Linked DNA regions of Homo sapiens: all the other regions are linked to region 1. Evidence: promoter capture Hi-C in 16 types of primary human blood cells and fetal thymus (Javierre and others, 2016). All regions are on one chromosome and are shown on one strand. The core of a region is centred on a gene start or on the middle of the fragment in contact, and the rest is flanking DNA. Distances in the headings are between cores, read along the strand shown.

Evidence for each region. The method cuts DNA at HindIII sites, captures the fragments that hold promoters and counts their contacts. A CHiCAGO score of 5 or more calls a contact.
Region 2: a fragment that was not itself captured here is called in contact with the fragment with the promoter of PLSCR5-AS1 in region 1 in 6 of 17 cell types (M2 macrophages, total B cells, naive B cells and 3 more); the score reaches 6.9 in M2 macrophages.
Region 3: a contact is called between a fragment that was not itself captured here and the fragment with the promoter of PLSCR5-AS1 in region 1, in 2 of 17 cell types (neutrophils and M2 macrophages). The highest score is 7.4, in neutrophils.
Region 4: a fragment that was not itself captured here is called in contact with the fragment with the promoter of PLSCR5-AS1 in region 1 in 2 of 17 cell types (non-activated CD4 T cells and neutrophils); the score reaches 7.3 in non-activated CD4 T cells.
Region 5: a contact is called between a fragment that was not itself captured here and the fragment with the promoter of PLSCR5-AS1 in region 1, in 2 of 17 cell types (total CD4 T cells and naive CD8 T cells). The highest score is 6.7, in total CD4 T cells.
Region 6: a fragment that was not itself captured here is called in contact with the fragment with the promoter of PLSCR5-AS1 in region 1 in 4 of 17 cell types (monocytes, total CD4 T cells, M0 macrophages and 1 more); the score reaches 6.7 in monocytes.
Region 7: a fragment that was not itself captured here is called in contact with the fragment with the promoter of PLSCR5-AS1 in region 1 in 13 of 17 cell types (monocytes, naive CD8 T cells, activated CD4 T cells and 10 more); the score reaches 14.0 in monocytes.

The regions. Positions count from the first base shown.
Region 1 is chr3:146,587,882-146,591,553 of GRCh38, forward strand. It overlaps PLSCR5-AS1 (PLSCR5 antisense RNA 1), which reads left to right and starts at 1,721. Exons shown (of 2, transcript NR_046698.1): 1 at 1,721-1,907; 2 at 2,182-2,444. It overlaps PLSCR5 (phospholipid scramblase family member 5), which reads right to left. Exons shown (of 8, transcript NM_001085420.2): 6 at 1,772-1,933. The HindIII fragment of the contact is 1,724 bases long and covers 187-1,910 here.
Region 2 is chr3:146,078,941-146,082,612 of GRCh38, forward strand. It overlaps PLOD2 (procollagen-lysine,2-oxoglutarate 5-dioxygenase 2), which reads right to left. Exons shown (of 20, transcript NM_182943.3): 12 at 2,798-2,923; 13 at 176-317. Among named protein-coding and RNA genes, the nearest start is that of LNCSRLR, 12 kb to the left of the region's middle. The HindIII fragment of the contact is 291 bases long and covers 1,647-1,937 here.
Region 3 is chr3:146,095,265-146,098,936 of GRCh38, forward strand. The region is part of intron 7 of PLOD2 (procollagen-lysine,2-oxoglutarate 5-dioxygenase 2); the gene reads right to left. Among named protein-coding and RNA genes, the nearest start is that of LNCSRLR, 28 kb to the left of the region's middle. RefSeq lists an enhancer at 2,078-2,627. The HindIII fragment of the contact is 9,903 bases long and covers 1-3,672 here.
Region 4 is chr3:146,112,255-146,115,926 of GRCh38, forward strand. The region is part of intron 3 of PLOD2 (procollagen-lysine,2-oxoglutarate 5-dioxygenase 2); the gene reads right to left. Among named protein-coding and RNA genes, the nearest start is that of LNCSRLR, 45 kb to the left of the region's middle. The HindIII fragment of the contact is 8,067 bases long and covers 1-3,672 here.
Region 5 is chr3:146,128,252-146,131,923 of GRCh38, forward strand. The region is part of intron 1 of PLOD2 (procollagen-lysine,2-oxoglutarate 5-dioxygenase 2); the gene reads right to left. Among named protein-coding and RNA genes, the nearest start is that of PLOD2, 31 kb to the right of the region's middle. The HindIII fragment of the contact is 1,759 bases long and covers 1,200-2,958 here.
Region 6 is chr3:146,144,842-146,148,513 of GRCh38, forward strand. The region is part of intron 1 of PLOD2 (procollagen-lysine,2-oxoglutarate 5-dioxygenase 2); the gene reads right to left. Among named protein-coding and RNA genes, the nearest start is that of PLOD2, 15 kb to the right of the region's middle. The HindIII fragment of the contact is 593 bases long and covers 1,403-1,995 here.
Region 7 is chr3:146,242,020-146,245,691 of GRCh38, forward strand. The region is part of intron 1 of PLSCR4 (phospholipid scramblase 4); the gene reads right to left. Among named protein-coding and RNA genes, the nearest start is that of PLSCR4, 7.2 kb to the right of the region's middle. The HindIII fragment of the contact is 2,371 bases long and covers 432-2,802 here.

The DNA.
Region 1 (3,672 bases), core at 471-2,970:
ATATATATATACATATATATCTATGTATTAAATTCTGAGTTTCAGTGAAGTCATCAGGGAATAATTTTTAGTTCATATATTTTCCAAATATCATTAGAAGAGACTCAGTAAATAGGGCATTAATGTAAACAATCAGATTTAGCATTCTGAAACCCCAGAAAACAATAAAACATGAGAAGGAATTTAAGCTTTATAAAAATTTCATGATTACCAAAAGTGCATAACCTGAATCTAACCATGACACAAACTGAAATTAGGCCACAGTTTACAAAATAATTGGCTTATGCACTTAAAAAATGCCAATGTCGGCTGGGCAAGGTGGCTCACACCTATAATCCCAGCACTTTGGGAGGCCAAAGCGGGTGGATCACGAGGTCAGAAGATCGAGACCATCCTGGCTAACACAGTGAAACCCCATCTCTACTAAAAATACAAAAAAATTAGCCGGGTATGGTGGCACATGCCTGTAATCCCAGCTACTCGGGAGGCTGAGGCAGGAGAATCGCTTGAACCTGGGAGGCAGAGGTTGTGGTGAGCCAAGATTGCGCCACTGCACTCCAGCCTGGGTGACAGAGTGAGACTCTATCTCAAAAAATAGAACAAAAAATAAAACAAAAACAAAAATGCCAATGTCATGAGACTCAGGGAAATGCACATGCATGTGCACATGTTCATGCACACACATATACACACACACACACCCCTTAGGAACAGTTCCAGGTGAAAAGAAACAAATGAGATGTGACAAAATGGACATACTTCATGATCTTGGATTTTCTATTGTCAGAAAGGACATCATTATGCAAATCAGTGCAAACCGAATAAAGTCTGTAGATTAGATAATAGCATTGAATCAGTGTTTAGTGCCTGACTTTGACAATAGTACTGTGATGTGTAAAAAAATTCCTTGTTTTTAGGAAATGCACACTAATATAATTAGGGGAAAAGGCATCATGTCTGCAACCTACTCTCAACTCTTATGCTGTTTGTTTTAATCACTTATGTGTGTGCCTGTGTATACACATCTTTTTCATGTATTTATAGAAAATACATGTGTTTATATATCAACAAATAAAAACTCCATAAGTTTTTATGGCTGCATTGAAAATGGTAGGAAATTAGGTAAATATTAGAGGGAAAACTAAGAACAGGATATAGGTCAAGCATTTTGATACAGGTATTATTTGACTTCTGTTCTTCTATCACCAATCTCCATATACCAAAGAAGAAAAGGTTTTCAATATAATTGTAAGTTGGAAAGTAATAACAAGAACATAGTATCTTAGAAATAATGGCAACTGGTACCTATTAACTCATCAAATCATTTCATGTGTCTATGTTCACACTGAGAAGGCAACATTCTTAATATCATCTAGCTCACTATTATGCAATGAACCAGTCTGGAACTTTATCCAGGATAAATCATGTGATATTTATGTTTGCATATTTTTTAGTTCAAGTGAAAATAAGCCAAAAATCTAAATTGAACGTAAAAGCAAGGGGAAACTAGGTTTTAAAGAAATGATGAATAGGATGTGATAACACTTCAATCTTTGAGAAAGGGGATATGAGATCACTGAAGAGGGGCTGCCTAACAGAAATGCAGGGTTCTAAATTCTAATTTTTGAAGAACATTGGTCCTAAGCTATCCTTCTATGAATAAAATATACTCTTTGGGGGTAAAAACTGTGTAAATGGGATAGGCTATATTGTAATTAACAAGCAAGAGGGAGAATAACAAATCACTCATGCTCTCAAAGCCCATACTTACAAAGAGAAAACAGGCACCGATCATTGCTGCTTTGACTGTTACATCTAGATCTGCAGGAACATGAATTCCGAAATTGTCAGCATTTGTGAAGACATCATTTACAAATCCTGACCAGTACTTTGAAATCTTCCCAATTGTAAGCTTTTCATTAATGGTTTTCACCTTTAGAAAGAAAATAAGGAGTATTAAATTTGACAGTGAAAAAAGTTGGTTTTATACTTCTGAGGGTGTTTACTTCATGAGAGATTTGAATTATTTTATTTGTCATCTTCAAAATGACAATTCCATGTTATTCATTCCATCATATAAGCATAGGTTTGTAAATTTAGCTTTTCAGTTTACTTTTTAGAAACTTTGCTTTTTTGACAGTTTTCTAGTCCATCATAATTCTTTTTCTTTTTTGTATGCAGATGGAGAATATCAGGATAAATAATTAAGGCTCAGCCACCACAAGATGGCAGCAGGTACATAGTTCAATTGTATCATCTAAGCATGAAGGCGATTTCTTTACTTGAGGTCCAGATTTTAAACCTGAATTCTCCATCTTAAAAATGTAAAAGAAGATATGTTTGAAAAAATATTTCAGAAGGAATTAAATTAATTTCTAGGCATAATTTGTAAACTTTCAAATTTCAGTTGCTAAAATTTTATAATTATTAAAACATTTAAATATTATTGGCCATTGTTAAATCACATTTTTATATTATACTCAGACATTTATTAGGTCAATACTTTCTAACAAATCCTAAATCCTATTTTTACATTAAAAAAATCCTCCTGGTTAATGTACCATATAGGAAGTTAAGACCAACTAGACATCAATCAGTCCTTCTCAGCTAGAAGGAGTTCACAAATCAACTTTATCAGCTATTTGTTTGTTTATTCTGCTTCCCATCCTGATGCTGAAAGTAATTCAAGAGAAACTATCACTTTTTTCAGGGTAGTAAAAGATAGAGAATAGAGAGGGTTACTTAGGACATTTCTATAGCATGAATGCTAAAACTCTTATGTTTAAAGTCCTCCTCAATCATATTACTCGTAGGAAAGTCATGCCAAATCCTTTGGGGATAGGGTGAAGTTGGAACAGCTCAGTTTGCAAAATTTGCATTGTATTCTACGTGCATAGTGTTTCCTGAAGTCCTGAGAACTAAATGCCCTTGCTGAGATATTTATGTATGAATGGATGAAAAATAAATATACACTTTCAATTAGGCTGTCTCCTCTACCTAAGTTGTATGTCCAGGACAACCTGTTAAGATAGTTTATATTGCTACAGATCAAATTTACAACTTTCTATTTTTTAAATATTCAATTTATACAAATACGAGAATAAGGTTTTTTTTTGTTTTTTTTTTTTGTTTTTTTTACAAAACTAACTTAGCAAGTCTTAGAAACACAGCTTTTGAGTTAATGCTGTTTTAATGTAACGTGCTGCTGAAATGAGATCTAAACTGGGATATGTGATCTCAAGGCCCATAGGAAAGAAGATACATAATTTAGGTGATTCTAAACTGTATATATTGGCTTTATTGCCATGTGTCCTGTGATTCTACATAAATAAAACATACTGAAACAAGAATGAAGTGCTAATTTTCAAAATCAGGAAATATTGGTTATCTTAAAAAGGCAAAGCTATGTGTCCAAAAATTTTTGATGTTCAAAGTCTTGCACACATTAAAATAGCAACACATTTACTATTCTAATCAAAGAGATATAGTAGCTTTGTCCATAGAACACATAGAATTATATTTAGCTAAACATGCTTTTATTATAGTAAAATTTATTAATATTACTTTGGATAATACTTACACTGGTCTATGACAGATATGATGGCCAAGGTGATAAATTTTGTAATATTATTTTTAAAAAATCCTTGGACTTTATATCTCTGGATTTACATA
Region 2 (3,672 bases), core at 542-3,041, 510 kb before region 1:
GTAAATGTTAAATTATCTCCAAAATTACTCCCAAATTTTTTAACACAGAACCAAAAAAATTGGCTAGTACTTACAAATTAGCAAGACAAAGGGCATCAAAACACAGTGACACACCAACTGGTAAAGCAAGCCATCTTATAAGAACATTCAAGCAAGCCATCACTGCATATCTTACCATTTCTCTAGCATTTCGGCAAAGAGCCATATCAGGATCCAGTTTATCACGAACAAAATAGTTCCTTTCATTCATCTCTGATCGGAGTGTCTTTCCTTTAATTAAGTACACATTAGCCATATATGGGACATTCCATACTCCTCTGAAAGTAAAGAGAAGACATTCTTATATACCACAAATACAAACAATTTTAAGTTTCATTTTTACCTTTTTAAAATAAATGCTTTGTGTTTAGATTTTGTATACATAAATTATTGAATCAACATACAAATATATTCAATGATATATATATAAGATTACATTGTATACACTATATTTAATGAGATTTAGGAGATAAACCACTGCCCCTTTGGATACATTTCAATTTTGGGTTGGTATCTGTTTGGCATTTGTATTATAGCTATCATATCTCAATCAGTTGTTACAATTAGACTATTATAATCTATTGTATAGACGGTGTTTCTATTTAAAATTAAAGAATTTGATAGCATGAATCATAACATACAACCAGTGGTGCACTAGACCCAGCTCATACTGGCTCCCCAAAGTTAACTTTTTCTGCCAAGTCCATGTTCAGTAATTTCACATTGGAAACTTGAAATCAGCCATGGTAGAAGTATTTACACCAAACAAATGGGCAAGCACTTTAAATCAGGGAATCCTCCACCTCCAAAAGCCAGTTGTTACACATTTACCAAAATACCACTGAATATAGCCTAAAATTCTCCAAAATTATATTCTCTTACCATTCATTAAGCCATCTTAAATATTTTATAGAAAAAGGAAAACATGAAGAAATACAGCTGGGAGCACATGAACGTTGCATCCTTTCCCACATCTATATTCTCACTCTGAACATGACTGATTTCATAAAAACTGCAAAACAAGTTTTGCCCCTAAGACTGTGCGCCTTTCTTTTAGAGAACATCAAGGCAAGATCTTGACCAAGAAATGCAGTTAGATATTAACGGAAATATGATATTATGTCTTACTAGACTAGCCTCAAAGAAAAATGCCTTAAGGAGTACAGCAGTCCCCGCCTTATGTGAGGGTGATACATTCCATGACCCCAGTGGATGCTTGAAAGCAGATAGTAACAAACGCTACACATACACTACGTTTTTTCCTACACATATATACTTATAATAAAGTTTAATTTATACATAAAGTACAGTAAGACTAACAACAATAATAGAACAACTATAACAATATGCTGTAATAAAAGTTACATGAATGTTTACACTTTCTCTATCTCAACATATCTTCGTATTTTCAATCCACAGTAGACTTGAAACCATGGAAAGCAAAACCATAGATAAAGGGGAATTACTGTATACAACGTGTCAGCTAAATTCAGAAATTAATCTCTGGGGAATTATTCAGTGTTTCAACTTATACACACACACATACACACACACACACAGTTGCTCCTTCGTGTAGCTTTTGGACATGAAGTGTATTCCAGATCAAAAGCTTCTGCCATATTTTTTTCCTTATACTTTAGACAAGAATGACAGGAGGTTGGACAGAAAATCACCAATGCCTAAAGCAACTTGAAACAAATTTTCCATTCTACTTTCACAAACCCTCATTTGTGATGTGCCCAAAGATACAATCAGGTATATTGTCTATACAACTCACCCAGAGTCAATACAACTGCACAGAAACAACAGAATACGATCTTAATAGTCTTTTCTCCTCCACTGTGCATTTTAATTGCAGCTAACAAAAACCTTTATTGTATTTACATCATTCAGATTGAAGCTTTCCACACCAATTACTATTTCCACAAGCAACACATCTTTTTACCACTCAACTGTTTGAACAGAAACGTGTGCCTTTTTTTTTCTAAATGTAAGGGCACATCCTTTTAGTCCTGAGAGTATACTGCCCCTTTTTAATCAGGCTGACATGTTTGAGAACTAAGGCAAAGCATGTAATGTCTTAGTCACTCTGGTCCATCATATGTATGAAAAAAAGAATGACATTCTTCTCCAATATTACCTTAGCAAAACTATTTCAATTGTGATTATTTTTAGTAATCAACCATTGTCTCTGAAATAAATATAAATCATGCACACACTTTTCAGCAAATATATTCTTTTCAATCTCTAGAAGTGAAAATCTAATATTGGTAAAAAAAACTTGTATTTAAAGCAGAATAATAGCTATTTCACACAAAAAAACTCATGCAATCAGGAATACTGGAATGTTCTGGCTGTTAGTGTTACTGTTGGCTTAATTATAAATTTTAAAACCTATCAAAACAACCCTTAATTATAACCATTAAAAAGTTAGTAAACTAAATCCCCTTTCCAAGCTTTTAAATAAAGAGTATTACTCTTCTATCAACCATAATGTGAGTATGGTAAACATATATTATCTCTTAGTATTCCCCACAGCAATGAGCTTGTTCCTTTGAAGATTTGGGACTTTAAAAACATTTTTTTAAGATATTAGTTTTATACTAGTATTTCAGGATTCCAAGTGGTCTTGGGTTCTCAAATTCCCATTAACTATAAAGAAAAGAGATGAATGCAAAAAAAATTTCAAGTAATACTAACAAGACTACATCTTTAGATTATGGTATTTCACATTAAAATATTAAACCAAGTAACTTACACTCTATTCCCTTGAACAATATCCACATAATCTTCAGATCGTGCATAGTATCCATCAGGACTCAATGCTCCCCAGAAATTGGACCACAGCTTTCCATGACGAGTTACAAGAGGAGCAATGATCTTTCTAAAGACAGAGAGAGTGTGTGTGAGAGAGAGAAACCTATATAATTATTTATTTTTAAATTACCACAGAATTATGTATTTTGGGCTTAGTATGACATATAACACAAGAAAGCTCATTCAACAAACCTGTAGTTAATAAAAATAAAATAAGGATCTTCTTTCCCAACATCTTTTCTTAAGTAAGTATATTGCTAATTTTCAATCATATTTCTTAAAAAGAGTAACAAAGAAGGAAAAAGTAATTGAAAATGCTAATGAATACATAAAAATGACTTTTAAAAATGCCTTGCTTACATCCAACAGAGGGAAACTACTTTAGTTATTTAATTATATTTAAGTTTAACTAAAGTATTTCGGAACCTATATTAAATGAAACCAAATATTTTCATTGTCACTGGGTGAACAACAGCCCCTGGTGCATTTAAGATATTCAATGAATATTTGTTGAATTTGTAAAAAATGAATGAAGATGAACTGAGATGTTTGTAAACAGGCAAAGCTTTCCTGTAATTAAGTCTCAAATTACTTAAGTATGTTTCCAGTTTTCCATGACTTTAAAAAATGACTTGTGATTACAGTAAGCTAGTCCTGGCAACACTGAACTTTCCTTTAACTATTTTAGAAAGCAAATTTATGGAACAACTATTCTTTATATGAAAAAAGAAAACCTATTTCACCTCTATCTTGTGAAGACCAGCCGGGCCCTTTCTATTACATGCACAAAAGTGAAATAAATAAACACACATCGGG
Region 3 (3,672 bases), core at 880-3,379, 490 kb before region 1:
ATCAGAGTGAACAGGCAACCTACAGAATGGGAAAAAAATTTTGCTATCTATCCATCCAATATCCAGAATCTACAAGGAACTTAAACAAATTTACAAGAAAAAAAAAAAAACCACTCCATCAAAAAGTGGTCGAAGGATATGAACAGATACTTCTCAAAAGAAGACATTTATGTGGCCAACAAACATGAAAAAAAAGCTCATCATCACTGGTCATCAGAGAAATGCAAATCAAAACCACAATGAGATACCATCTCATGCCAGTTAGAATGGCAATCGCTAAAGTCTGGAAATAACGGATGCTGGTGAGGATACGGAGAAATAGGAACGCTTTTACGCTGCTGGTGGGAGTGTAAATTATTTCAACCATTGTGGAAGAGAGTGTAGTGATTCCTCAAGGATCTAGAACCAGAAATACCATTTGACCCAGTAATCTCATTACAGGGTATATATCCAAAGGATTCTAAGTCATTCTACTATAAAGACATATGCACATGTATGTTTATTGCAGCACTATTTACAATAGCAAAGACTTGGAACCAACCCAAATGCCCATCAATGATAGACTGGATAAAGAAAATGTGGCATATACCCTCTCCCCTCTCCCCTCTCCCCTCTCCCCTCTCCCCTCTCCCCCCTCCCCCCTCTCCCTCCACAGTCTCCCTCTGATGCCGAGCCAAAGCTGGACGGTACTGCTGCCATCTCGGCTCACTGCAACCTCCCTGCCTGATTCTCCTGCCTCAGCCTGCCGAGTGCCTGCGATTGCAGGCGCGCGCCGCCACGCCTGACTGGTTTTCGTTTTTTTTTGGTGGAGACGGGGTTTCGCTGTGTTGGCCGGGCTGGTCTCCAGCTCCTAACTGCGAGTGATCCGCCAGCCTCGGCCTCCCGAGGTGCCGGGATTGCAGATGGAGTCTCGTTCACTCAGTGCTCAATGGTGCCCAGGCTGGAGTGCAGTGGCGTGATCTCGGCTCGCTACAACCACCTCCCAGCTGCCTGCCTTGGCCTCCCAAAAAGCCGAGATTGCAGCCTCTGCCCGGCCGCCACCCCGTCTGGGAAGTGAGGAGCGTCTCTGCTTGGCCACCCATCGTCTGGGATATGAGGAGCCCCTCTGCCTGGCTGCCCAGTCTGGAAAGTGAGGAGCGTCTCTGCCCGGCCGCCATCCCATCTAGGAAGCGAGGAGCGCCTCTTCCCCGCCGCCATCCCATCTAGGAAGTGAGGAGCGTCTCTGCCCGGCCGCCCATCGTCTGAGATGTGGGGAGCACCTCTGCCCCACCGCCCTGTCTGGGATGTGAGGAGCGCCTCTGCTGGGCCGCAACCCTGTCTGGGAGGTGAGGAGTGTCTCTGCCCGGCCGCTCCGTCTGAGAAGTGAGGAAACCCTCTGCCTGGCAACCGCCCCGTCTGAGAAGTGAGGAGCCCCTCCGTCCGGCAACCACCCTGTCTGGGAAGTGAGGAGCGTCTCCGCCCGGAAGCCACCCCGTCCGGGAGGGAGGTGGGGGGGGTCAGCCCCCCGCCCAGCCAGCCACCCCGTCCGGGAGGTGAGGGGCTCCTCTGCCCGGCCGCCCCTACTGGGAAGTGAGGAGCCCCTCTGCCCGGCCAGCTGCCCCGTCCGGGAGGGAGGTGGGGGGGGGGAGTCGGCCAGCCGCCCCGTCCAGGAGGTGAGGGGCGCCTCTGCCCGGCCGCCCCTACTGGGAAGTGAGGACCCCTCTGCCCGGCCAGCCGCCCCGGCCGGGAGGGAGGTGGGGGGGTCAGCCCCCCGCCCGGCCAGCCGCCCCGTCCGGGAGGTGAGGGGCTCCTCTGCCCGGCCGCCCCTACTGGGAAGTGAGGAGCCCCTCTGCCCGGCCAGTCGCCCTGTCCAGGAGGGAGGTGGGGGGGTCAGCCCCCCGCCCGGCCAGCCGCCCAGTCCGGGAGGGAGGTGGGGGGTCAGCCCCCCGCCCGGCCAGCCGCCCCATCCGGGAGGTGAGGGGCGCTTCTGCCGGGCCGCCCCTACTGGGAAGTGAGGAGCCCCTCTGCCCAGCCACGACCCCGTCTGGGAGGTGTGCCCAGCGGCTCATTGGGGATGGGCCATGATGACAATGGCGGTTTTGTGGAATAGAAAGGCGGGAAGGGTGGGGAAAAAATTGAGAAATCTGATGGTTGCCGGGTCTGTGTGGATAGAAGTAGACATGGGAGACTTTTCATTTTGTTCTGTACTAAGAAAAATTCTTCTGCCTTGGGATCCTGTTGATCTGTGACCTTATCCCCAACCCTGTGCTCTCTGAAACATGTGCTGTGTCCACTCAGGGTTAAATGGATTAAGGGCGGTGCAAGATGTGCTTTGTTAAACAGATGCTTGAAGGCAGCATGCTCGTTAAGAGTCATCACCACTCCCTAATCTTAAGTACCCAGGGACACAAACACTGCGGAAGGCCGCAGGGTCCTCTGCCTAGGAAAACCAGAGACCTTTGTTCACTTGTTTATCTGCTGACCTTCCCTCCACTATTGTCCTATGACCCTGCCAAATCCCCCTCTGCGAGAAACACCCAAGAATGATCAATAAAAAAAAAATAATAATAATAATAATAATAAAAAAAGAAAATGTGGCATATATACACCATGAAATACTATGCAGCCATGAAAAAGAATGAGTTCATGTCCTTTGCAGAGACAAGGATGAAGCTGGAAACCATCATCCTCACCAAACTAACACAGAAACGGGAAACAAACACTGCATGTTCTCACTCATAAGTGGGAGCTGAACAATGAGAACTCGTGGACACAGGGAGGGGAACATCACACACTGGAGCCTGTTGAGGGGTGGAGGGAAAGGGGAGGGAGGGCATTAGGACAAATACATAATGCATGCAGAGTTAAAAACCTAGATGACGGATTGACAGGTGCAGCAAACCACCACAGCACATGCATACCTATGTACAACAAACCTGCACGTTCAGCACATGTATCCAAGAACTTAAAGTAAAATTTTAAAAAGCTACCAAATTCATAATTAAGATGTATATTGTTTGATATTTAAAAGAAAAGGCTGAACATTAAAATATGCATCTTATACATTACTAACAATAAATGGGTTTCAAGAAAAAGTAAACCTTCAAATTAGAAACCAGTTTCTATCTAAAAATTGATTCATATTAGATTTATACAGACCAAGTATGAAAATAATTATTTAAAATACCTAAATATGTTTTAAATAAAATGTTAATTAAGAAACACAAAATTGTTTATATACTACTATGAAAACAAAGGAAAATATAAATGTTCATAGATATATACTGAGGAGACATAAAAACTGAAAACAGCTATGAATTAAAACCATATGGGAGGGCAGTATAAATGATTTTTAAAATTACTTAAAATTGTTAATATTTTTTCCAATGGCATAAAATTTGGAGAAAGTAGGAAATAAGCTCATTTTTTATACTTTAGTATCATCAACATACTATAATCACTTCACCACTTATAGATTATATACATTTTTAATGAAAAAACTGCTTAAATGTTTAGTTCAATATTATGGCTCAAAACCACTATCATTATAAACATCCATTACTAAACAAAATAATAAGTAAAACTAACTTACAAAAAATCATACCAAAAAATCCTTCCACCTTTTATAAAGGTTAAAAAATGTTTGTAATAATCAGCCTTCTTTCCCCATCAGCCTGGATAAGAAGAATACGT
Region 4 (3,672 bases), core at 466-2,965, 480 kb before region 1:
CCATTAATGATAAACTGGAAAAAGAAAATGTGACACATATACAACATGGAATACTATTCAGCCATAAAAAGAATGAGTTCATGTCCTTTGCAGGGACATGGATGAAGGTGGAATCCCATAATTCTCAGCAAACTAACACAGAAACAGAAAACCAAACACCACGTGTTCTCACTCATAAGTGGGAGCTGAACAATGAGAATACATGGACACAGAGAGGGGAACATCACACAGTGGAGTTTGTCGGTGGGCGGGGGGCAAGGAGAGGGAGAGCATTAGGACAAATACCTAATTCATGCAGGGCTTAAAACCTAGATGAGGCCGGGCACAGTGGCTCATGCCTGCAATCCCAGCACTTTGGGAGGTCAAGGCGGGCGGATCATGAGGTCAAGAGATCAAGACCATCCTGGCCAACATAGTGAAAACCCATCTCTACTAAAAATACAAAAATTAGCTGTGCGTGGTGATGTGCGCCTGTAATCCCAGCTACTTGGGAGGCTAAGGCAGGAGAATTGCTTGAACCCGAGAGGTGGAGGTTGCAGTGAGCTGAGATCATGCCACTGCACTCCAGCCTGGTGACAGAGTGAGACTTGGTCTCAAAAAAAAAAAAAAACAAAACTCTAGATGATGGGGTAATAGGTGCGGCAAACCACCATGGCACATGTATACCTATGTAACAAACCTGCACGTTCTGCACATATATCCCAGAACTTGAAGTAAAATAATAATAAAATTTAAAAATTAAAAAAAGTTATAAATGCACTTTTGGAATGTGAGTGAATATTTTTTGTCTTTGAAACCCTAATGATGGATACAGATTATATAAACAGTATAGCTCAAACTATTAATAAATGTCAGTTGTTTGAAAAAGAGTTATGGCAACTTTTATAATTTAGCGTTTTATAAGCCTGTATTATCTTTATAACAAAACACAATTATTTTAAAGCAAAAAGTTAAGACAAAAGTTATCACATAATTGCCTTTGAAGAAAAATTTCACGTTGCTGAAACCTTTCCTATCTCATTCGAGTAGCACTGCTATTTCTGTGTTTAAATACTTTAGAAAAGTTATTTGAACTTACTTAAAACTTCTCAAAGGGCAAGGAAGGTTTCCTACTTAAATTTATTTTGGCTGTAAAAAGTCAAATTGTCAAATTTAAAAAAATGCACACAGGTGTTGCGGGAAGTCAGGGACCCCAAATGGAGGGACCGGCTGAAGCCATGGCAGAAGAACATAAATTGTGAAGATTTCATGGACATTTATTAGTTCCCCAAATTAATACTTTTATAATTTCTTATGCCTGTCTTTACTGCAATCTCTGAACATAAATTATGAAGATTTCATGGACATTTATCACTTCCCTAATCAATACTCTTGTGATTTCCTATGCCTGTCTTTACTTTAATCTCTTAATCCCGTCATCTTCGTAAGCTGAGGATGTGCGTAGCCTTAGGACCCTGTGATGATTGCATTAACTGTGCAAATCGTTAGTAAATCATGTGTGTTTAAACAATATGAAATCTGGGCACCTTGAAAAAAGAACAGGATAACAGCGATGTTCAGGGAACAAGGGAGGTAACCATCAGGTCTGACTGCCTGAGAGCCGGGCGGAACAGAGCCATATTTCTCTTCTTACAAAAGCGAATAGGAGAAATATCGCTGAATTCTTTTTCTCAGTAAGGAACAGCCCTGAGAAAGAAAATGCTTTCCTAGGGGTAGGTCTCTAAAATGGCCGCTCTAGGAATGTCTGTCTTACACGGTTGCAGATAAGGGATGAAATAGCCCCAGTCTCTGGTAGCACTCCCAGGCCTATTAGGACGAGGAAATTCCTGCCTAGTAAATTTTAGTCAGACCAGTTGTCTGCTCTCAAACCCTGTCTCCTGATAAGACGTTATCAATGACAATGCATACCCGAAATTTCATTAGCAATTTTAATTTCGCCCCGGTCCTGTGATCTCGCTTTGCCCCCATTTGCCTTGTGATATTTTATTGCCTCTGTGTGCCTCTGTGACCCACACCCTATTCATACACTGCCTCCCCTTTGAAAATCACTAATAAAAACTTGCTGGTTTTCAAGGCAATGTAGTGCCCTGAAAACCAAGTACGTCTCAGGTATTTCTTATAGCAGCGTGAAAATGGACTAATACAGCAAAAGAAACCCAAATTATCCTCGAAGAGATGACCTGTAGATAAGCAAAAGTATCCAGCCAACAGTCCCAGCTAACAACCAGACATACTCTCAGTGGAGCAGCCAGATTACTGCAGCCACAAAAGTGACCCCAGGAAAAATCAGTAGAAGAACACAGATGAATCCAACCAAACTGCATAATCATAAGCATTGATCCAACAAGCATTCCTAATAAGCCTCCCACACACTAATTTCCACCTAAGATTCTACTTTCTGGAGAACCCAATCTGCAAAATTTGGTACGAAGAGTGGGGAAAAGGAAAGTAGAGGTAGCTACTGGAGAACGTGCTCCACCAAATTAAGGGAATAAACTAAGAAAGAGGAAGACATGAAAAACAGGGCACAGAAGAATCCACACAGGGTAGAGTCACAGAGGATTCCCATATGATGGTGAAGGGAAGTCCCTGCAGGCCTAGAGACGCATCAATCCCAACTGCGGAACAGCACAGGCTCTGAGAGGGATGTCTTCATTAAAATCGACAAACTATCAATGTATTGACTACACTGAGAAGAATTCCAGGATTCTGTAGAAAACTTGGGGGGGATGAATTAATAAAATGAATATAGAAAACAAAACAAAACAAAAAAACTTGCTGGTTTTGCGGCTTGGGGGGCAGCACGGAACCTGCCAACATGTGATGTCTCCCCCGGACACCCAGCTTTAAAATTTCTCTCTTTTGTACTCTTTCCCTTTATTTCTCAGACCGGCCAACACTTAGGGAAATAGGAAAGAACCTACGTTGAAATATTGGGGGTGGTTCCCCCGATACACAGGTCATAAAAATATTCTCACAGAAATTGAGTCGATCTACATGTGAAGAAAATAAAATTTTCCACATATAACTGTGGTAAGTATGCCTGGGTCCTGAAAAAACCATAAGATTCTACCTGATGTGGTCATACTGAGTCCCCTGCCAGACATGTCAGTGTTCTATCTCAATAGATGATTGAGATTTTCTAAGTGTTTTTCCTTTTTGTCCTTCTGTGTTCCCTACTTCTGTGACAACATCAACCACATAGTCACCTAGGTTGAAAATCTTTCATTCACCCTTCACTCCTCTCTTTCCATGGCCTATCTCATGGAATCTTTTCCTTAATCCTATTGATTCCATCTACTTAATTTATTTTGCATTCAAATCCTCTCCACTCCCACTAGAAGGCACAAGGCTAGATTAATTTTAAAACCCTAGAGACCTCTACATTACCCATCTCTTCCTCACTCATAAATAAGACTGTCTGACAAACTATTTTAAAAATGATTCTGTGCCAGTTCCCAGACTGTATCAATGGTTCTCAACTATGGCCTAAAGCGGGAGTCAGTAAATATTTACTCTCTGGCCTTTTACAGAAAATATTTTAGGTCCTGATGACCATATTGTCTGTCACAGTGACTGAACTCTGTCACTGTGTTGCAAAAGCCACCACAGACAATATGTAAACAAATGAGCACAGCTGCATTTCAATAAAACTTTTTACAAAAACAGGCA
Region 5 (3,672 bases), core at 829-3,328, 460 kb before region 1:
TAATACCACCAATCTATAACAGCAAAAGCTATCTCATTTTCTTCGTTTCAGCAAGATACCTGGCACCATGAGGTTAAAAAAACAAGCAAATGGAAGCTCATCAGTAGCCAAATGTAACCTCTATTGCCACCTTTGGACTCTATTAGATAACAGATCAATACAGTTTCCATGAATAAGAAACAGGTGATGCATCTATACAGTGTGGTAGATTTGAACAACAACTTACCAAATGAAAATCAGTGGCAGACTATGTAATCATCTTTACATAATCCTCCAAAATGCCTATCACTACAGTAAGATTTAATAAATATTTGTTAAATGGCTGTATATTTTGCTCTGTCTGAAAATTCAGATGAATTTCATAATTTCCCCAAAAATCAAGAAGTCAATTTGTTTAGAAAGGCCAAAACATGCTATGTCCTCAAAGCTCTAGAAGAAAAAAAAAATGCATTGTTGGAGTCATTTTTTTCTCCAAATAGCTGTTGATATCTGAACACAATTTACCAATATTCAGTGGTGACACAATTTTTCTATTCAAAAACAAACCATGGTTTTAAAACAGAAAGTGTTTTTGCTAATATATCCTGTCACCAAATGCTAAAGCAGCTTCTGAAGTCCATCTGAAATCCTTTTTTTTTTTTTTTTTTTTTTTTTTTTTGAGACGGAGTCTCAGTGGCACTGAAATCAATTTTCTTAATGAGGGCATCACAGTTAAATAACAGCACTAGCCCAGCTGCCTTTTATCCATATCTTCTCAAGTAACTTTAAACACAGTTCTTAATTTTAAACTGGCAACAATAAAAAAAAATTATTGTGCCACAGAAGTAACTGTGAGTACACTGTTCTCATTCTACAACTAACTGATTTTATGACCAGACATGTCTTTTATCTGTAAAGATTACTGTTTCTCAACTTTCTACTAAAGAAAAATGTTTTCGTAGTAAAAGCATAATAGAGATGTTGAGAAACTTCTTCTGCAAAAGGTCAAATAGTAAATATTTCAGGCCTTATGGGCCACATACACTGTCTAATACAATTTGATTTTTTCCTTATTTTTTTACAACCTTTTAAAAATGTAAAAAACATTTGTAGTTGTCTGGCTGGCTGTGCAAAAACAGCCAAGGGCCAGAATTGGCCTAAGGGTCATAAGTTTGCTACTTATCCATATAGTTGGCCATATGGATCTGAAGGCAAAGTAAAGCTTAAATCCCAGCTCTATTATTTCTTCTTGGTTTTGACTTGGTCAGTTACTTAAACTCTGCGTCTCAACTGTAATATGTCTGTAATAGCATCTACCTGACAGTATTTCCATGAGAGTAAAATGAGTTAGTATATATAAAGCAGTCGACACAAACTCCTACATATGTGTTAGGCAGCATCTCACACATATATTCAAAGGATGCATGTGCAAGATAGACTGTAGGTGATGTGCAAAACTCAGCGAGTTATAACTCCCATCCCTTTCTCTACCAGAGATGCTATCCAGATTGTTTTTAAAAATTATGGAAAAATAGTCGTGAAGCTGTTTATTCAAACAGTTTAGCAAGTAACTCTAGATACGCCTTCTCAAATCTTTACATTCCTCTCCATCTCCCAGCAAGCTATAATAACTCTAACTCAAGTTATAATCAGCACTAGCTCAGGTTTCTGCAATCGTCTCTTAGGCCAACTTTGTACACTCTAAACCTCTGTTTACAAAGCAGCTAGAGTGATCATTTCAAAACAGTTAGATATCTGACCATGTCACTTCATTGGTAAATACCCTCTTAGGATAGTAGAGAAACTCCATTACCACAATGTGGTCCTAGGTTACTTCTCTCCTCTCCAATCTCATCCACTTTCTCTCTCCACTTTGTTCTCTCTTCTCCAACCACATTGGCCTGTATTTTTATTTTCTAATAATGCCTGCACCCTCCCATTCAAAGAGAAGAGCCTTTTCAAGACCATTATCTAATATTCCTCCCTGACATCTTGATGTGGCCACTGCCTAGGTAAACCTGAGATTCTTACACATATGCTATTTCCTTAGAGAGACCCTCTCTGACCTACTAGAGTAGGCCAGTACCCATGTTTTCACTGCACTTTCTACCTTTCTTTCAGGGCACTCACCACAAATTGTAATTACATATTAATTTGCATAATCTCAAATTATGAATAATCTCAAATTATGTGAGATTAAAGTCTCTCTCTCCAATGAGACTGTAAGTTACAGAAAGGCAGAGAACATTCTTTTGCTCACAATTAGACCTCCAGAGCTTATCACAATATTAAGCACACAGTAGGTTCTTAAAAAACATTTCAGAATGAGTGGACTCAGGGGCAAGTAATATCATATGTCTTGCATGTAGGTGTGAATGAAATAATTTAACAAAATCCCTATGTAGTTAGCATAATCATCTCAAATTCACAGGTGGTTAAACTCCAGTAAAGTAATCGACTTAGCCAAAGTCACCTAACAAATTACTAGTAGGGCCAGAAGTAGAACTTCAGAGTTATTCCTCAATGTCATGTGGCCTCCCCTGGTGACAACAGGTTAAGGGCTGAAGCAATCATTGAGTTTTATTATGTTCAGAAAAGAGATAGCAACTTAAGACTTCTATCCTTAGAAAGATCTGCTTGTAAGGTTGGTCCTTGGCAGGCATCTGAAAAGTTGGATTCCATATGGTTTCCAGATGGTCTTCCAATGGGAAGGGTTCCCATCATTCCTAGATAAGATGGCTCACTGTGGCTAAATTATACAAACAATGCGGTTTATGCTGAACACCTGCCTTCCTTCTGGGTGCTTGAAATTTTGGTACAGAGGCTGCCTATGTGACCATTCTCCAGAAAAGTTATGGGCACTGAATCTCTAATGAGCTTCCATGGTAGGTAAACATTTCACACATGTTGTCACAACCAGTTAGTTGCTTGGAGAATTAAGCAGATCTTGTGTGACTTCACTGGAAAAGAACTGTTAGAAGCTTATTCCTGGTTTCCCTGGACCTCACCCATGTGTTTTTTCTCATTGCTGATTTTGCTTTGTATCCTTTCACAATAATAAGTCATAGACATGAGTACAACCATATGCTGAATCCTGTAGGTCCTCCTGGTGAATCACTGAACCCGCAGGTGGTCTTGGGGATGTCCGACATATTATCCTAGCTACAGTCAGAAAGTCTTATCTGAAAGAGGTACTATGGGGATAGTGCATTATGCTGTGTTCTGTACTCAGAGGCGAAGCTAGAGAGATATAAAAATGACTCCAAATGGATTCCAGAAAATAAGTATTTGGTACATAAAGTAATCATACCCTGCTCTTCCACTGACTGAAAGTCATTTCCTTTAATGTGAATTATGACCTCAGGGTCAGTCTAGCAAAGCCCACTTCTTTCATGAAGGAGGAAACCATAATCTAAAGAGAAAACAAGACTTATCCAGGATCCTGCAGTTAAGTGGTAACCAATCTAAGACAACTCGGGATTCACAGTTACTAAAAAACTTGGTTTTCCTAGGTTTCATTGCACACAATTTTGTTGCTTTGTTAAGTACTGAGTCACCAAAAACTATGACGAACTGAAGGCACGAAGTCTAATTTTATTTTGTGGAATTGTTGAAGAGAATTAATTTTATTTTGCAGAACTGTTGAAAAAAATTCAAGACAAAAATTCCTCAAGAGTAATTCACGTCACAATT
Region 6 (3,672 bases), core at 449-2,948, 440 kb before region 1:
GATATACAAACAAAAAAATGAATACTATCACAGTGTTTTACATTGTTTACTAATTGATAGTGTGTTCATGGACAAATTTAAATTTATTCTTAACTATCTCTGTTTTCAGTTACAAGCATTTATTGTCATTGTAACCGAAAATACAACTCTTAAACGAAGTTATGCCATCTTCATTAGATCTACCATATCCTAGTTCTTACTGATTTCTACTGGTGCTTCAACATTTCTTATAGGAGCTCTGTCATTTCTTACTAGAGCTTTCAGAATAATTTAGATGACAAACGTCATTTGAAGGGCTAAACTGACTACATCCTAGGCATATCACCAAAACAAATCCAGATTCCCCAAATATTTTTGTCTTCATCAAAATAAAAGCAAATGTTTTTAGCTGTATCATTTTAAACACACACATACAAAACCAAAAACTAAAACTGCTATGGTGACATAATAAACCTAGATAGGCATGTATTAATCTAATCCAGCCATTCCCAATCTAGTTTTGTCTATGTGTTAATTTGAACACTAAGGTACATCTACCTACCACCTGAAATTATCACAATGAGCAAAACAAATGAAATTTTAAAATAAATAAATACCATGTGTAGTTGGGGTGTCCCAACTCCAAATAATGTGAGGAAGATCAACATTCTAATTTGAATGCAAGATACTCCTCTGTAGATTTGTTCAGCAGGAGTTTCAGCCATAAGCTTAACTATAGTTACTGTTACGAGCAAAGAAACTACAAAAGTAAAAAACAATTACATAAAAACCAAACTTTCAAATAAAAATTGTGAAACATAAATTTACAATTAGAAAGTACAGTTATGGTAGTCCACAAAGTTTTCTTTTGTACTTTTGTTATCATGAATTTTTAAAAGGCTGAGTCAAATTAAATCCTTCCTTCCTTAATGAGCCAGAATTTTATTACTGACATTATCAAAATCCAGAAGCTGTGAGTAAGCCCCACTTTTATCTCAGAAAAGTGACACTAGTCAGCTAAGAATTTACTGAAAGTTATAGGGTGCTGTATAAAATAAGAGCACTAGTAAATAAGAAATGAATGAATAAGTCAAACAAATATCATAAAATTGTAATTAGGATTAAGTTGTACCATGCCGTCTCTTCCATAAAAGTTACAATCCACTGGCCTCAAAACAATAAGGATGGTGAGGGGACATAAATTTCTATTACTTAGTTGCCTCTATTTCATAAGTTTCTTTTTTTCCCATGACTTTATTAGAAATTGGTCTTCTTAAAAGCTGACAAAGTATTCAACATGCTTAGAACTTTATAATAGAGCTCCACGTTAAAAAGCATGTATTTCATGTAATGCTAAGCCCTTACTTGGGTCCCTATTGTCAAAAACATCCATAAAAATTTAAAATAATTTAATGCTTTGCCAAGCTTCAGGAAGAACAATTACTGAAAAAGTCATGAGAAAATCAAATATTAAAGGTGCATTTCTCCAAGTTCTTTGGAGCTAAACATTTGGATGTAAATTATACCCCTCCTCTAAGATGTATTCCTGTGAGATTTGAAAAACAGATGGTCCTATCCCTATCACTTTTGGCCATTTCCATTGGTAAGCATGGTCAGAAGGATACGGTTTACCCTACACCAGTGTTCTAGGGTCAATCTCACACTTTGTGGGAACTGGGGAGGAGGGCGGGTGGACGGAGAGGGAGAGAAAGAGAGAGAGAGGCAGAGAGACAGACAGACATATGGACAGCAGCAAAGGCTGTGGCTGAATTCTGCATTGTTGGTATAGTCACTGCCTCATGGGCATAAGGAATCAACAGAGACAGCTTCTCCATCCCTGGGTTACATTTATGGAAGCCTATTTCTGAATTCAATACTTCCAATGGTGGGCTCCTGATTCCCCGCTGGGACAGAGGTAGTAGCCTCCTAGTTTGGTCAGCTATTTCTGCTATTCTAGAAGTCACTGCTGAAAGTTTTGCTAAAGCCCATTCTTCCAGGCTTTCCAGTAATTGTATAAGCTTGTAATTACTTTTGTTAAATCTGTTTTTGCTCAAGATATCTAAAATGGGTTCTTCGTTTGAATAGAACCCTGACCAACATAGGGTTCCTGCTTATCTTGTTAGTTGTGACTAGGGCAAGCCATGGGTTAATGGACTATCCCTCTGTAAGGCCTATAGGCAGAGAAGCTTCCGAGGTTGGGAGTTCTAAGGCACAGCAATTCAAGAGATACGATCTCTATCCTCTTGCAGGTTAAAATCCAACTAAGAATGTAAAGTTAGTTCATATGAAAAGACTGAGAATAACATACTAAATACTAATTTAAATCACAGATTATATATTTGCAGAGAATACTGTAGGAGTTCAACATTGAAGGAACAATAAAAATCTACAAAAAAATCACTAGAATATAAGACTTAATATATCTATGTTCAGGCCTTAAAAAATGACAGACAGTATTTTCACAGTCAAGGAACCTGGAAATATAATCCCCCCTCCTCCAAAAGATGTGTAAAAGCATGATCTCTTGACTGGATAGTGAGGAATCCAGTATGAACAGAGTGCAAATTGGGAAATGATAATAAATACATTTGGAAATAGAGAAGACACTAGAAGCGGGGCAGTGAAATTAGAAGTGTGCCATCAGACTGTAGCAGAGTTTCCCAACTTCAGCACTATTGACATTTGGGGCCAGATAATTCTTTCTTGGGGTGGGGCTGGGAGAGAGTGATGGGGTCATGCTGTGTAATGCAGGACACTTTAGCAGGGTCCCTGGACTCAACCGACAGGATGCAAGTAGCACCCACTGCTCAAAACAAAATGTCTCTAGACGTTACCAAATATTCCAGGGGGGACAAAACCACTGGACCATAGGCTGAAAGTCATAGCATGCGAAGAGTCACTGGACTTAAGAAAGATGAGACAAGAAAAATAATTTCAGAAACAATGATAATTATCTAATTCAGTGATGTATACAGAGAGGGGGCTGCAAACACATCAGTGAAGAGGCCAGGCACCTGCTATGGTGACTGGAGTGCACAAGCACCCCATCCAAGGAGAGGACTTCTCAGAGTCAGCCAGCTGTTGTTGCCATACGGGAAGGAAAACCCAGGGTTTCCAGGCCTTCTTTTCCTTTTTTCTCCTCCAAAACAAGAAAGATTCTGATTTTTAAGTAAAATTTCCTGAAACATAGAACTTAATTTGAGGCTTTTGAAAAACAATATTTAGGCTAGATTTGACCCTGAAGCTACCAGAGTCCTGCAGTGTAGACTAAGGTAAGTGACAGCTTGGAAGGTGTTTAGGAAGATAAATTTATGGATCCGGATCAAACAAACCAACTATAAAAAGACATACTTGAGAAAAAGAGGCAAAGGTGAATTTGGATAGGTATTAAATAACATTAAGGAATCACTGTTGAATGCAATAACAATATTAAGATCATGTTAAAAATAATCTTTACCCGTTTCAAATATCTAATAGATATCTAATTATTTATACAGGCAGGCAGGCAGGCAGGCACGCACACACACACACACACACACACACACACACTTTTCACTACAGATGAAACAAACAAAAAAAGACAGAGACAAAATAATGAGCAAAGCACTATACCTAAATACGAAGAATAAATCAGAGGAATGAGAAAAAAATGACTTCAAAGTTTTGAAGTTCAAAGTTAGAGGTCTCTAGTCT
Region 7 (3,672 bases), core at 367-2,866, 350 kb before region 1:
CAATGATGGTAGTGGAGCTTCAGCCAATCACGGGCTGTCAACTGATCAGACCATGTCCGTTGAAGGCAAATGCCTCATCACACCATGACCAAATAAAGCAAATACCAGGCTGGATCCAATCAACTGATTTATGTACGTCACTTCTTTCCTCTGTTTATGAATACTGCCTGCCCATGTTGCTCGGTGGAGCTCTCTGAAACTCTTCTGGTTCTGAGGGCTGCCTGATTCATGAATCGTTTTTCGCTCAGATAAACTCTGCTGAATTTGCCTAAAGTTTTTCTTTTAAGAGTTTCACATGAGAAGTCAGATCTTGAAGCAAACTTCCAGTGATCCCAGGAGCACTGAGTGACCAAGTTAAGGTACCCAGCATGCCCAGTGTACTCACTGCTCTTTCGCAGCAACTGGGGTCATGGGTGAGATTTTTGAATCTAAGCTTCATGAACTTCTGATTTGAGCTGAGTTTGAGCATTTTTGATCTACACTGGGTTTCAAAGTCATGCCAACAACAGGACTGGGCCCAGTAGGGAGGCCTCAGGTATTTGACTGGGTCAGACATAAACTCAACTCAGTTAGTAGGTAGGAAAGGTTAATAAAAGACATAGAATCATGGGTTTATCTGGTCAAAGGTTGCTAGAGCTTCGCCCTCTGGAATTCTAGCCAACTTCATGTATAAAAACCAGAGACCCAGAACCTGTGCTTTTCGAGACGAATGGGAGAACCTTAGCAAAAGTAACTTAGAATGGCTACAGTGGGAAAATTCCTTACGAAAGGCAAACAGGTTTATGTCTTTACAGTTGTAAAGGCTACAGGGCCCAAGAGGATCCCAAAATAAAGAACCCTATGCCCCAAGATGTCTGCCTTTATGGTAAACACTCATGCAACTGGAAAATACATTGTCCACTTTTATATTAGCCATCTAATGGATCCACTACCTTTTGTCTGAACTATTTCTCCACCAGAGAAAGCCCCCAAAGGCTTTAATCCCAAAACAGTAACCCATCAATCTCTCAGGGAGGAAAAACAAATTCTGTGGTGGGGGTTTCAAATCAAACCTGGAAAGTTCCTAATTGACACTTGGACCATTTTCAGAAAAAAAATTTGTAAGAATTAGTTCTGTTATCTGTATTTCATCCTGCTTCTTCCATGGGGATCTCTCAATTGACTGAAACCCCTCTTCTCAAACTCCTGCTAACAATATGCTCTACCAACTGTATACATCTTTTTTTTTATTATACTTTAAGTTTTAGGGTACATGTGCACAACATGCAGGTTTGTTACATATATACATCTCTTTCTTATCATCATGATCCTGACTATGCTCCAAAACTCTTGAAAAACAAAAAAATAGAAAGCAAAACAAAAACTGTGTTGTCATTTATTCTTGAAAACAAAGAAATGAACAAAAAGGATGAACCAATCTCTAACTTTAAGAAAAGATTATAATATTCATGCAGAGTTCGGGCACATAAAATGCTGTATAGACTAAGCAACCCTAATCCAAAAGTCCAAAATCTGAAATGCTCAAAAATCCAAAACTTTCAGCACCAACATGATGTCACAAGTGAAAGATGATGAGGACACTGTTAAAACTGCAAAGTGCCTATAGATGACATGGTGAAAATATGTGATGGGTTTACTGAAGGACTCTAAGAGCATTCATTCATCACAGAATAAGAAATTGTGTCAGTCTGTAAAATCAACAGAGACTTCTAAGACAAAAACCATTGTTAATGAGACAGCGGACTCCAGAGGAAACATTCTGAAAAGTCATCCATCAGAATGCTTCCTCATTTGTAGAGAAAACACTTGCTGGTCACTTGGCTACTTCTGATATTTCTTCTCACTTAAAATAATAAAATTCAGTGAATGATAACCTTGTAATCAAAATACAGCATTGTAGGTAAAGAATGAAAGCCTGCCATTGCTTATTGGTGGCTTTCCGACACAGGCATTCTGGAGATACTACTGTGCTGCTTAGTTACCCTGAACGCATTCTCTTTTCACTGTACTAATGATACATCCTATTTTTTACTGTTAAGCACTTATTTGTGAGTAATGTAAGAAAATGATTACTTATCAGTAGCATAATGAATTTAGAGTCAGGAATGATGGTGACGTCAAATAACCACAGATTGTCCACATGGGTGATTGAGATACTGATACCTTTGCTTTCTGATGGTTCAACGTACGTAAACGTTTCATACACAACATTATCAAAAATATTGTATAAAATTATCTTCAGGCTATATGTTTAAAACATAATGGAACATGAATTTCATGTTTACTTGGGTCCCATTCTCAAGATACCTCATTATGTACATGCATGCCTTGTTTTACTGTGCTTTGCTATACTGTGATTCACAGATACTCCATTTTTTTAAACAAATTGAGGGTTTGTGGCATCCTTGTATCAAGGAGTCTATCAGTGCCATTTTGCAGAACAGCAACTTCTCAGTTTGTCTCTTTGTCAAATTTTGGTAATTCTCACAATATTTCAGACTTTTTCATAACAATCTGTTATGGTGATCTATGATCAGTGATCTTTGATGTTACTATTATAATTGTTTTGGGACCCCATGAACCATGCCTATATAAGATGGTGAACTTAGTAAGTGTTGTTGTGACTGCTCCACAGAGCAACTATTCTCCCATCTCTCCCCTTATTCTAGGACCTCCCTATTCCCTGAGACAAAACAATATTGAAATTAGGCCAATTAATAAGCCTACAAATGCCTCTAAATATTCAAGTGAAAAGAAGGTTCGTGCATCTCTCACTTTAAGTCAAAAAGCTGGAAAAGATTAAGCTTAATGAGGAAGGCATGCTGAAAGCAAAGACAGGCCAAAAGCTAGGCCTAGATTCCTCTGATGAATCTAGGCAACGTAAATTGAAAACTTTCTAAAAAGGATTCACCATTTTAGATACCACTAAGAACTTTTGTTATTCATGGGAGGAAGTCAAAATATAAATATTAACAGGAGCTTGGAAGAAGTTGATTCCAACCCTCCTGGATGATTTTGCGTGGTTCAAGACTTCATTGGATGAAGTACCTGCAGATGTGAGAGAATAGCAAGAGAACTAAGAGTTAGAAGTGAAGCATGAAGATGTTACCGAATTGTTGCAGTCTCATGATAAAGCTTAAAAGGATCATTGCTTCTATGGATAAGGAAAGAAAATGGAAGCCATTTCCCAGATGATTTTAATATATCCCCTCCTGGCCCCAACACACACCCCCTCAGTTACAGATCTATGAAATTTTACCCCATTCAGATAAAAACCTATCTGCTGTAGGAATCATAATACATTCAATCAAATGTTCAGTTTACCAATATAAGACATATCTATTTTTTCTCAAATCTCATTTGTAAACCCAAGTAAATTTCCTCTATACCAAATTCAAAATAAATCCAAAATATGCCATATAATATTTTTAAGTGATACATTCTCATTTTCACAGAAGGAATGCAAAACGAAAATAGTAGTGATTGTAAACTACATAAATATCAAGCACAATTGTTAAGTAAACACATTATCATGAAACATTATGATAAAATAATTTTCCTTTAAAAATATAGTAACAGTTTTGTAAAAATCATTAAATGTTTACATTCAAATGTTAAACATATAATCTGGATAATTATAATGATAGCAATGTTTTTAAAAAATATGGAAAC